3 separate regions of the Homo sapiens genome follow, and all the other regions are linked to region 3. The links are contacts of gene promoters, found by promoter capture Hi-C in human tissues and cell types (Jung and others, 2019). All regions are on one chromosome and are shown on one strand. Each heading gives the region's core, a stretch centred on a gene start or on the middle of the fragment in contact. The rest is flanking DNA. Distances are from core to core; before and after follow the strand shown. Region 1 overlaps LARP1B (La ribonucleoprotein 1B). Region 2 overlaps LARP1B (La ribonucleoprotein 1B). Region 3 holds the start of MFSD8 (major facilitator superfamily domain containing 8).

The links. The method cuts DNA at HindIII sites, captures the fragments that hold promoters and counts their contacts. A contact is called where the count stands out against the background at its distance.
Region 1: a contact is called between a fragment that was not itself captured here and the fragment with the promoter of MFSD8 in region 3, in 2 of the 25 tissues and cell types used here (H1 embryonic stem cells and spleen).
Region 2: a fragment that was not itself captured here is called in contact with the fragment with the promoter of MFSD8 in region 3 in 2 of the 25 tissues and cell types used here (IMR-90 fibroblasts and aorta).

Annotation. Positions count from the first base shown.
Region 1 is chr4:128,138,481-128,142,579 of GRCh38, forward strand. All of the region lies in intron 11 of LARP1B (La ribonucleoprotein 1B), which reads left to right. Among named protein-coding and RNA genes, the nearest start is that of LARP1B, 79 kb to the left of the region's middle. The HindIII fragment of the contact is 6,686 bases long and covers 1-4,099 here.
Region 2 is chr4:128,160,763-128,164,985 of GRCh38, forward strand. LARP1B (La ribonucleoprotein 1B) reads left to right here. Exons shown (of 20, transcript NM_018078.4): 12 at 1,432-1,555. Among named protein-coding and RNA genes, the nearest start is that of LARP1B, 100 kb to the left of the region's middle. The HindIII fragment of the contact is 4,054 bases long and covers 276-4,223 here.
Region 3 is chr4:127,963,339-127,967,254 of GRCh38, forward strand. It overlaps MFSD8 (major facilitator superfamily domain containing 8), which reads right to left and starts at 1,835. Exons shown (of 12, transcript NM_001371596.2): 1 at 1,734-1,835. The coding sequence starts at 1,795. ABHD18 (abhydrolase domain containing 18) reads left to right here and starts at 2,068. Exons shown (of 13, transcript NM_001358451.3): 1 at 2,068-2,268. RefSeq lists silencers at 792-901, 1,012-1,141, 1,152-1,201, 2,322-2,551 and enhancers at 1,642-2,061, 1,652-2,267, 2,946-3,447, 3,448-3,916. The HindIII fragment of the contact is 8,084 bases long and covers 1-3,916 here.

The DNA of each region.
Region 1 (4,099 bases), core at 972-3,471, 180 kb after region 3:
AATAATTTCAGGAATGCACAAATATTTCCAGAGAATAGAGCTAATAATAAGTCAAATATTTGTGGAAAGGGTAGTGGTGGGGGAGAACACTTATGAGAAGAACATATCTTTGGTACCTGAGCTGTACATAAGAAATTAGAATTCATGAGAACGTGAATGAGAGTCAGGCATTACCTAGGTATAAAAAGGCTAAACAGCTGGGCATGGTGGCTCATGCCTGTAATCCCAACCTTTTGTGAGGCCAAGCCAGGTGGATTACCTGAGGTCAGGAGTTCAAGACCAGCCTGGCCACCGTGGTGAAATCCTATCTCTACTAAAAATACAAAATTAGCCAGGCATGGTGGTAGGCACCTGTAGTCCGAGCTACTTGGGAGGCTGAGGCATGAGAATCGCTTGAACCTGGGAGGCAGTTGCATTGAGCCGAGATCATGCCACTTCACTCCAGCCCGGGTGACAGAGTGAGACTCTCAAAAAATAATAATAATAATTTAAAAAGGTCTAAACAATATTTTAGTAAACCAAATATAGCAGTTTTTTAAAAAACAGATAACCAAGTTGTGTTCATTTCAAGATCATGGATTAATTGTACATAAGAAAAGTTAGTAAAGGAAATTCACATTAACGGATTGAAGAAAGATTGTGATCACTTGAATAAAAAAGAAAAAAATAGAAGAAAATAAAGAAAAATATTTGAGGTGATTGATATCCCCATTACCCTGATGTGATCATTACACATTGTATACAGGTATCAAAATGGCACATGTACCCCAGAAGTATGTACAACTAATATACATATATCAGTTTTTTTAAGAAGCATAAAAAGTCCCCAAACCAGTAACAGTCTAGGCATTAAAGAATATCTGTAAGTCAGGCATAGTGCTGTGCACCTGTAGTCCCAGCTATTCTAGAGGCTAAGGCAGGAGGATCCCTTGAGCCCAAAAATTCAGTGCTGTAGTGTGTGATGATCACAGCTGCGATGTAGTGTGCACCTGTGAATGGCCACTGCACTCCAGCCTGGGCAATATAGTGAGGCCCATCTCTTAAAATAGAAGAAAAGAATCCATAAAGTAGATTTACTAAATGCTTGTAACTGTATAACTGTTAAAAAAAAAAACAAAAAAACAGTATAAGATCGTGCCATTGCACTCCAGCCTGGGCGACAGAGTGAGACTGTCACACACACACACACACAAAAGATTCAGTATACTGCTTATAAGACATGAACAAACTTTTTACAAAAGAAGAAGTCTAAATGACTGAGAACATGAAAAGATGTTCAACATTATTAGTCAAGGAGATGAAAATATTTCAATGAAATAGTTCATAAAACTTATATTAGCAATGTTAAGACATCAGATGGTAAGTAGAGTTTGGGAGTATTTGGAGCAAGAACCTCAATCTGTGGGAATAAAAAATGGTAAACCATATGCTATGATCCACCATTTCCACTCAGGAATATATTCTCGAGTTGCATTGTTTAGTAGACATTAACCACATGTAGTTATTGAGCCCTTGAAATGTGGCTAGTCCAAATAGGATGTGTTTTAAATGTAAAATACTGGATTTTGAAGACTTAGTAACAAAAAGGAATATAAAATATCTCAAATTTTAATAATTATTGCATGTCGAAATAGATTATTTAAAATGTACATCTTGTATATTTTTTGTAGTTATGGGAAATTTAAGATTACATTGTGTTTGTATTGGCTGGCACTACCCTGGAGGAATTTAGATGTGTTCACCAGGAGCAGTATGTAATAATGTAGCAGAATAATTCATTATAGTCACAAATTGAAAATATTTGAAGTATCTATCAGTAGCTGACTATGTCATCATTATAGTAGTGAAAAGTAGCTATATAGTAGAGAAAAAAATGATTGCCATACACATCTTTATGAATACATCTAGAAAACAATGCTGAATGAAAGAAGTGAGGGTTCATACACAATATGACTCCACAAAACTCAAGAACAGATCAAATGAAACATGATTTTTTAGGTACACTTAACGTATATAGATGGTTGCATAAAGAAAAACCTGGAATAATTACTACGTAAGTCAGAATTTGTTCATTGTGGGGGCTGGGGGGAGGTGTAGGATCCTCAGAAGTTTCTAAAATACTAACAGTTGTGTTTCTGGTAGTTGTTACATGAATGCGTTATAAGTTGCACATGTATATTTTATGCATTATTCTAGGAGACATATTTCATAACAATACTAAAAGGCTAGAATTAAAGGGGGATGGGTAGTACAAAAGAGGCAAGCCAAAGCTGATTTATTTACTTCTTGAAGCTGCCACATTGTTGTTCCTTGGTCTAAAGTCAAGGTAGGTTAATTGTCTCTGTTTTTTTTTTTGGCAGAGTCTTGCTCTGTCGCCCAGGCTAGAGTGCAGTGGCGTGATCTCGGCTCACTGCAACCTCCGCCTCCCGGGTTCAAGCGATTCTGCTGCCTCAGCCTCCCAAGTAGCTGGGATTACAGGCATGCACCACCATGCCTGGCTAATTTTTGTATTTTTAGTAGAGATGGAGTTTCATCATCTTGGCCAGGCTGGTCTTGAACTCCTGACCTCGTGATCCACCTGCCTCGGCCTCCCAAAGTGCTGGGATTACAGGCATGAGCCACCGCACCTGGCCAATTGTCTCTGCTTTTTTGCGTCCAGCTATTTGTCTTCCTTTCCAGTGGTCTGCTTGAGTGGTATAAATCTGTACAGTATTGAAGACTTTGTTAACATAGGATGTAGAGATCAGACGTCCATTCCAAAAATGTGCTGATAGGCCTTTACATCTTATCATTGGTATCATTGGCTAGCGTCTGGGCTCATGAGCTCAGGAATTTCCTGGTCCACTATCTCATGATACCTTCCCCTAACTATAAATGTTTAATTTGTATCTACAGAATAAGAGAGAAACACGTTACAACGAGTTGCTCAGTATTCTATCCTCTGCCCAAGTTGCTTGTGTAGAAACTCAAATATGCTAATGTGTTTATCTCCAACATTTTAGGAAGAACCTTCAAATTTGAAACTTATGAATCACATCTGCTAGTCACTTAATCTCATCGTTAGGCTCATTGCATTTACAGTAGTGAAATATACCAGTTTTGTCCAGTACTACTTATAGTATTATCAGGTGAACTTAACACTCCTCACTGGTGGCCTAAACATCAGTTCCCAGAATTTTTCTTGGAGGTACTTAGCTTTGTGGTATTTGAGAGAACATTTCCAGTTGTTAGATGATTGAGACCATCAGCAAGCACGTTGTTGAGAGGTTACACTCTCAACAAGAAAGCGTACCTCTAGTGGCTTTCTTCTGCCTTGACCCAGACAGCATTCTGGAATTATTGGGGTCCTTGAGCCTTGGAAGACTGGATAGCTCTCATTCACTTTGACTTTGCTGATTACTTCACTCTCTTATGCAGCATTCCCCCTTACAAATGAGGCAAGTCCTTACCTGTATTTATTTCAGATAGTGAAAGGAACTTCAGTTGTGGCAGAGTATTTGGTATAAAGGTGGACATGCTGTACACATTTATCAGGAGATGGCTGGCAGACAGAAACAATAGCTTCATACTGACTTGTCAAGAGGAGAGTCATGTAAACTTCCTGTCTCCTCACCACCACTTGAGCTGACCTTTTCTCATTAGAGAAGTGCACCAAGTTGAGAACCTGTCTGGCAAAGCCTGTTCTTGACCAGCAGTCAACTATGTGCAAGTTCCACTGGGAGTGCAGTTCTGGACCAACACCTAACTTCTGTGAATCTCAGGTGGGGATCATTCTTACCCTGTCCACCTCATGAGGTTGTAAAGAATTTGAAAACTGTAAAAAACTGGGCATATATGAAGAAAGAACAAAGACCAGATGGTTATGTGGGACCAGAAACAATGCTACAAATGGAGGAAAGACCAGGAATTTAAGGAATGTAGAAGCTTAGGCAGCCTTTACATAGAAACTGTGCCATCAAAGTACAGTCTGTGGAGTTCTTCCAGGTGCCACAGTTCCATTATTAGTCCTCTTATGTTGTATATTTCTTTCTTTTTTTTTTTTTTTGAGATGGAGTTTCGCTCTTGTTGCCCAGGCTGGAGTTCAATGGCGCGATCTCTG
Region 2 (4,223 bases), core at 1,053-3,552, 200 kb after region 3:
TTTTGAGGAAGAAATGTTGATAAATATACATTTTGATGTAATTAAAGGTACTTTAGTGAAAAAAGATCATAATCTAAAAGGCTAACATTGGGATTTAATAAATGGTTTGAGCTGACAAGTGACTTCATCTTTGAAGACAGAAGGAAAAGATTCTTTTGTTATTAAGAGCAAGCTACAACTATTTTGTAATGATATTTAATTTCCTTCCTGTTTTAAATTTGCTTCAACCCGAAAAATTCTTTCTTATGTTTTTTACTTGCTTAAACCCGCTTTGGATGTTGCCCTGTAAAGATTCATGTACCCATTAGTACCATGTGGAGTAGATGTGATATAGGGTTTTATTGGGAAAAACTTAGAAGAAATAGTGGAGTGTAAGCAGTCCCTCAAACTCCTTTTTTATCTCACAGTTTAGGCCAGACATAGAGGGTCTTTATGGTTCACCTGGGTGAACCATAGGGTTCAACCTTTAGGGTTCAACCTTTAAGTTCACCTGTGGCCAAGTGAACTTCCAGTAGAGAATGACCTCTACCCTCTGTAATGCTCCACACATTTGTAGGTCAGGGCCGGAAACACTTAAGTGACTATGCAATAGTAGTTACAAAGGGGAAGCCTCCAGAACCCCAGAGGCAGGGAGGGGTCTATTCTTCCTTTGAGCTAACAACTCAAATATACTGAGTCTCTTTGCTGCAGCTATCCAGGGCCATCCAGATTTATCTTTATCACATGCATCCCATTATTATAAAACAAAGTGAAATCTTCTTGACCCAGTATTAAAGGTCTTCTAGTAGCTTTCTCCAACTTCCTCATCAGTCCTCTTTGCCACTGGTTCTACACAGATTTTCTTAGTCACTTAATTACTTTGTAATAAACACATTGCTTTTTCCAAGCTTCTTATCTTTGCTCTCATTACCTATTTAGAATGTTTCTCCCTTTCTCTAAATTCTCATCCTTCAAGAGGTGCTTTTGTCCCATCTCTCCTGTGATGGCTTCCTGATGATCGTAATTCTTACACCAATATCGCTCTTCACATACTACCTAATATTATTTATTTTTATGTGTTCATTTCTTCCTTTTCATCTAACATATAAATTCCTTAATGGTAGGGAACATGTATTAGATTACTTTGTAACGTCTGTAATACCTGGTAGTCTTGTATGTAAATGCTCAACAAATAATTAATGATTAGTATGTGTGGTCTTATAATGTTTTTTAATTATAAAATCATTATAATATTTTAGGGTGTTATATGCCTCTTAGATTCTGAATGTTGTTATTAAGTATAATGCTAGACTCTTTATTAGAACGTCTTTTTCACTCCATTGTAATTAATCCCTGTTTTAGAAGTTCATTTTTTTGAGGTTGGTATCAATTATTGTCTGTTGGTTACTCTGTTAGCCAGTTTAGTAATTAGATTCCTCCATTCTACTTCAGCAAGAAGTTGAGAACTTTAAGAAGCTAAATCTCATTAGTAAAGAGCAGTTTGAAAACCTAACACCTGAACTTCCTTTTGAGCCAAACCAAGAAGTTCCTGTAGCACCTTCACAGTCCAGGCAAGGTATGTAAATCTGCTTTTGTGTAAGTGTCTGAATAGTATTAAAGCAGTTCTGAATTGTTTTTAAAAATTGCTCCTTTTTTTTCTTTATTTGTGGAAAATCATTAGGTAAATGGTAAAATGCTAGAATTTTAAAACTCAACTTTTATCCTTTTGTGAACTTCTATTATCACACCAGATTATGCTCAAAGCCAGAGGCTTACTTAGAAGTAGGCAGAATTTGTTGGTTCTTTATGTATCTGATGTGATTTTAAGATTGCTGGGAATGTTTCTCTTCCCAAAATAAAATTTTTCACTGACTCACTGATCCTTAGAATGCGCTAGAGTCATTCTTTTGTTTTAAGGGCTTAGCTCTGTGTGAGAGTGTAAATAAATACATTGGGAGATCCATAAATTGAATCTGACATTTCAGACAAGTATAACTGATTTTATTATAGCCTTTTCCTGAAGGTGGTTAAAAAAATGATTTATAAAAAGTCACACATATACAAAGATAGAGTGAATTTTATAATAAAACTCCCATGTACCTGCTATACTTAATCATCTCATACCCAATTTTGTCTCGACTCCAGTAACTCCTATACCTCCCTGTGGATTATTTTTAAACAAATTCTCAATCACATGATTCATATTTTTTTGTCCTTAAAGATTTCTGTATGTGTCTTTAAAAAGATAAGGGCTATATCTTTTAACACATAAATAGCAGGACATTATCATATCTAAAATTAACAGTAATTCCTTAACGTTAGATATCTAGTGTTCAAATTTCCTCATTCATCACTTTTTTTTTCCAGTTTCTTCAAATAGATTGCAATAGATTGATATGTCTTTTTTAGTCTACAGGTTTCTACTATTTTTTGCCTTATAATTTATTGGTCCTTGCAATTTGGTATTGAAGAAACTGGGTTGTTTGTCTTGTAGAATTTTTCACATTCTGAATTTTGCTGATTGCATCCCCATGGTTTCATTTAACCTGTTTTCTAGTCCTGAATTATCTATAACTGTTAGTTCAGCATAGAGACTTGATTAGATTAAGACTCAAATCTCTGTAAGAATATGTCATATGTAGTATTGAATACTATTAGGAGATACATAATGCTCTATTGTCTCTTTTTGTAATGTTAGCAGTCATTGATGATCAGTGAGTGAAGCTTTTATTTTACTAGGGGTTGCAAAATAGTGATGATTCTATTTTTAATCATTACGTCTTACCTTAATAGGTAGAATACTTTTATAAAGAGAACTTTCCCCAGAATATTTATTTATTCTGAGATAGAGTTCTTACAGGAAAGTGAGTCAGTGCTGAATTATTTCCCTTTGTTTACTAGTTTCAAAGTACTAGCTGGTTCCTTAACATTCTTCGCTGGTGACTAATGAAGTTTTTGTTTGTTTGTTTTTAAATGATCATTGTGAACTCATAAATACATGAGATGGGTTTCATTCTATTACAGTTATTATTATTATTATTGATACCTATGCCAGTTATCAGTTTATTGACTTTTAGCTCTAAAGCCACCTTTCATTTTCTTGCTCAGTAATAATGGAGTTGGACTGTTAACTTTAATGTTTCCCACCCCACAGAAGGTTGAGCCCCCACCAAGGTTGAGCTTTGTCAGTACCGGATCTGCTACTCAGTTGGTCCTTGTTTCTAGGCCTTTTGAATAGAAAGAGCTAGGAAATTTTTTAAGGAGAAAAATATATTACGTATTCATGTTGATATTTTCTGTCTAAATTTAAGATTATAGGTTTTAATTTTAATTTCTTTGATTTTGTAGTTGTATTGCTTTTTACTTATATATAAAAAATCTTTCTTCCTAACCACAGTAACATAATTATTTATTTGCTAATCCTATGATATAATAGTTCCAGAATAACAATAACATTAAATAATAATATTATAAATACTGAAAGGTAACTTCTTTTAGAGTTCTTTAAACTGTAAACTTTTAAAAACTTCATACTTTAAAGCTTTCTTTAAAGTTCTTAGTGTGTCCCACTAGGGCTGTTCAGTTAAATTGCTGGATTTTTTGCCTTGTTAAATTTGAATACTTTAAAATTGAGAATGTATATTCCTTTGCACATCATAGAAAGCATACAAGTCACAAATAAGGAGATAAATTTGGCATTGCATGACATTAACAAAGAATTAATATCATAGAAATCTAAAACCTTAAAAATTAATATGAAAAATGGCAAACATGAATAGAAAAAGTAGTAAATGAAACATGAACATCAGTTTCATATTTGGGAAGACCAAATGGCCAATAAATATGAAAAGAGGCTATTTTTACTGAGGTTTTCCAATTAAAACCATAGCAATACGCCATATTATAACCCAGCAGTTTCATTTCAAGAGATACTGTTGCAGGCCATTGTGGCTCATGCCTATAATCCCAACACTTCGGGAGGCCAAGGCAGGAGGATCACTTGAGCCCAGGAGTTTGAGACCAGCCTGGGCATACTGTTGCAAATGTTTACCAAGAGAACATTTGTAGTATCATTGTTCATAATAGAAAAAAGCAAATGAAAACTAAAAAATGCCCAGTTATAGTAGAATGTATTATAAGATGTGGTGTAGTCATACGTAGGAAAAATAGGCAGCAGTGGAAAATGAAAGAACTAATGTTACATGTGACAAAATGTGTTAATCTAAAAATATAGGAAAAAATAA
Region 3 (3,916 bases), core at 585-3,084:
GGGCCAAATATGGAATGCAGAAGATACAGAATGTGGTGGCTTTGTGTCCGGGATTGGTGGGTTCTTGGTCTCACTGACTTCAAGAATGAAGCTGCGGACCCTCGCGGTGAGTGTTAACAGCTCTTAAGGTGGCACGTCTGGAGTTTGTTCCTTCTGATGCTCAGATGTGTTCAGAGTTTCTTCCTTCTGGTGGGTTCGTGGTCTCGCTGGCTCAAGAGCGAAGCTGCAGACCTTCGTGGTGAGTGTTACAACTCTTAAGGCGGCGCGTCTGGAGTTGTTCGTTCCTCCCCGTGGTCTCGCTGGCTTCAGGAGTGAAACTGCAGACCTTCGCGGTGAGTGTTACGGCTCATAAAAGCCGTATGGTCCCAAAGAGTGAGCAGTAGCAAGATTTATCGCAAAGAGCGAAAAAACAAAGCTTCCACACTGTGGAAAGGGACCTCAGCGGGTTGCCACTACTGGTGGGCAGCCTGCTTTTATTCTCTTATCTGGCCCCACCCACATCCTGCTGATTGGTAGAGCCGAGTAGTCTGTTTTGACAGGGCGCTGATTGGTGCGTTTACAATCCCTGAGCTAGACACAAAGGTTCTCCACGTCCCCACTAGATTAACTAGATACAGAGTGTTGACAGAAAGGTTCTCCAAGGCCCCACCAGAGTAGCTAGATACAGAGTGTCGACTGGTGCATTCACAAACCCTGAGCTAGACACAGGGTGCTGATTGGTGTGTTTACAAACCTTGAGCTAGATACAGAGTGCCGATTGGTGTAGTTACAATCCCTGAGCTAGACATAAACGTTCTCCACGTCTCCACCAGACTCAGGAGCCCAGCTGGCTTCGCCCAGTGGATCCCGCACCGGGGCTGCAGGTGGAGCTGCCTGCCAGTCCCGCGCCGTGCACCCGCACTCCTCAGCCCTTGGGTGGTCGATGGGACTAGGCACCGTGGAGTAGGGAGCGGCGCTCATCGGGGAGGCTCGGGCCGCACAGGAGCCCACGGAGTGGGTGGGAGGCTCAGGCATGGCGGGCTGCAGGTCCCGAGCCCTGCCCCGCGGGAAGGCAGCTAAGGCCCGGCGAGAAATCGAGCGCAGCGCCAGTGGGCTGGCACTGCTGGGGGACCCAGCACACCCTCCGCAGCCGCTGGCCCGGGTGCTAAGCCCCTCATTGCCCGGGGCCGGCAGGGCCGGCCTGCTGCTCCCAGTGCGGGGCCCGCCAAGCCCACGCCCACTCGGAACTCCAGCTGGCCCGCAAGCGCGGCGCGCAGCCCCGGTTCCCGCTCACGCCTCTCCCACCACACCTCCCTGCAAGCTGAGGGAGCCGGCTCCCACCTTGGCCAGCCCAGAAAGGGGCTCCCACAGTGCAGCGGTGGGCTGAAGGGCTCCTCAAGTGCCGCCAAAGTGGGAGCCCAGGCAGAGGAGGCCTGGAGAGCGAGCAAGGGCTGTGAGGACTGCCAGCACGCTGTCACCTCTCAGCTTGGGTGCTGCAACAGGCAAAGCAGCAGCCTGGGTTTCTCCAGCCCCGTCACTCGAACCCACGGGCTCATCACCGCACGGTGCGGCCAGACGCCCTTTCTCCTACGTTGGGAGCGAATCTCCTCGGCTCACACAACCCAGCCACCGGCTCCCACCGCGCTGGAACCCCTCTGGCAGCGAGGGTTTGTCCCAGTGCGGGTGACGCCCGGAAAGGAACCAGTCCCAACAGCGCAGGAGACTGAGGGGTCCCTCCACCAGGATCCGCTCACCTGCTTCCAGGTGTGTCGCCTAAGAGCGGCTCCTGTTCACTTTCGTTCCGCAGGCCGGCCATAGTTACACTCCCTACAAGGCGTCTTGCGCCCAACTCTCGCGACACCTGCTTTCTCCCATCCCGGGTGGCGTGAAGCTGGCAAAACAAGCCTGTAAGTGCGCGTGCGCACCTGACGGTCAGACGTAGGCGGAACGCCCCGAGGTCATAGGCGGGGTCACGCGGAAGGCCGGGCAGCGCAGGGCGAAAGGAGGCTGTGTCCTCAGCCTCCTCCCTCGGCACGCGCCTCCCATCCTGACGGGGACTGAGAGCCCAGGAGAGCTCGGGGCGTGTCCAAACTGCCGCGCCGCCCTGCTCCGGGTTTGTCTTCCTCCCTCCGTTTCTCCTTCCGCTGTATCTAGCATTTCGGTTCCTGGAAAGGTTACCGGAGCTGCGATTGGGGCTGGGACCAAAGTTGAGTCCTGGAAAGGGAGCCTGGAGAGCGGCGGTGCTGGGAGGCCCGGCCAGCTCGATCGCAGGCTTCCACCTGGCGGCCAGTAAGTAGCCGGTCCGGTTAAGTAGTAGGTGCGCTAAGAGCTCCCCGCGCCTCTTAGCGCGCCGTGTACGCGCCTGGAGGCAGGGACCGGGGACGCGGAGCTGGGCGGGAGACTCGCGGGTCAGGGACGCGGGGTGAGGCTGGGGGTGAGAGACAAGGCTGGAGTCCGTGGCGCGCTTCGGAGGGCTGAGATAATGGGGGCGAGCGCGCGGGCAGTCCCTTCCCCCCGTGAAAGGTAGAGGTGGCTTCCAGCTCTCTTCTCTAGCTCGGCTAAATGCAAAGGCGCCTTACCTGGAGGGCTTGTCAGAGCCAGGACTGAAGGTGGGATCTGCTGCTTGTAACCTGCAGGTCCCCGGATGCGCACCCCAACGGCGCCTGCGCCTACGGGGGCCTCAGCCTTGCAAAATGTCACTCAGCAGAGCCTGCTGCTGAAACGTGGGAGTTGAAAAAGGTACAGCACCTGCCTAGCAATGACCAGCTCCTTTCGTCACAAGGAAGATGACATTTTTAGAAAACATGTCATGGGTTTTCACTAGATCTCCATGTTTATTTCTTGGTGGTTATGTATTAACATCTTATCTCTACTATTAGGCTTGTAGGCTAGCTGGCGTCAGTAGTCATTCTGTGTCTCATAAATTACCGTTTTATTAGCGCCAGATACATTGTCATGTAATTTCATTTGATCACAAGTATCCTATGAGATAGGCGAAGCAGACACATTGCTAGTTTACTGAAAATTAAGATCCAGACAAGTTAACCCAGAGTCACTCTGTGTGGAAGTGGCAAAGTTGGAAACCAAACTTAATTTTTTTAAATTAATATTTATGAGCATTTACCCTATGCTAGGTCCTATACTAGTTACACAGTCATGTATGGTATATGCCATCACTTCTGATCTTTGTGTCATTTGTGACCTTGTGTGTATCAGCCAGGCGCAGTTCACTGGTGAACACCTAAACTTGAAACGTGCGGTCTGGGTGCGATGGTTCATGCCTGTAATCCCAGCACCTTGGGAGGCCAAGGCGGGCGGATCACGAGGTCAGGAGATCGAGACCATCCTGGCTAACACGGTGAAACCCCGTCTCTACTAAAAATACAAAAAAAAAAAAAAAAAAAAAAAAAAAAAAAAAAAAGCCGGGCGTGGTGGCGGGCGCCTATAGTCCCAGCTACTCGGGAGGCTGAGGCAGGAGAATCCCTTGAACCCGGGAGGCGGAGGCTGCAGTGAGCCGAGATCACGCCACTGCACTCCAGCCTGGGCAACAGAGTGAGATTCTGTCTCAAAAAAAAAAAAAAAACCAAAAACCTTGAAACGTGCTATTCAGAAATATCTTCTAAATCAAGACCTGATATTTTGTACTTGGATTCAGTCTTGCAGATTCATTTGTAACAGCTCACAAAAACAAGTCAGATTTGTATTATTGGTTCCAAAAAGACACATAGGTAGAAAAGTTAGTATTTTCTTGCCATAATGTCGCTTTATTATATTGTCTTTTTTAATTCCTGGGGGCTAGCAATGTATGGCACATATATAGTGGACAAGGGGATTTTTAACCAGTATAGCAGTAAGCAGAATGGCTCCTAGATAAATATATGTTGGATGAATGCTCATTGAATTACTTCATCTCATCCTTACAACAATCCTCTGAGGG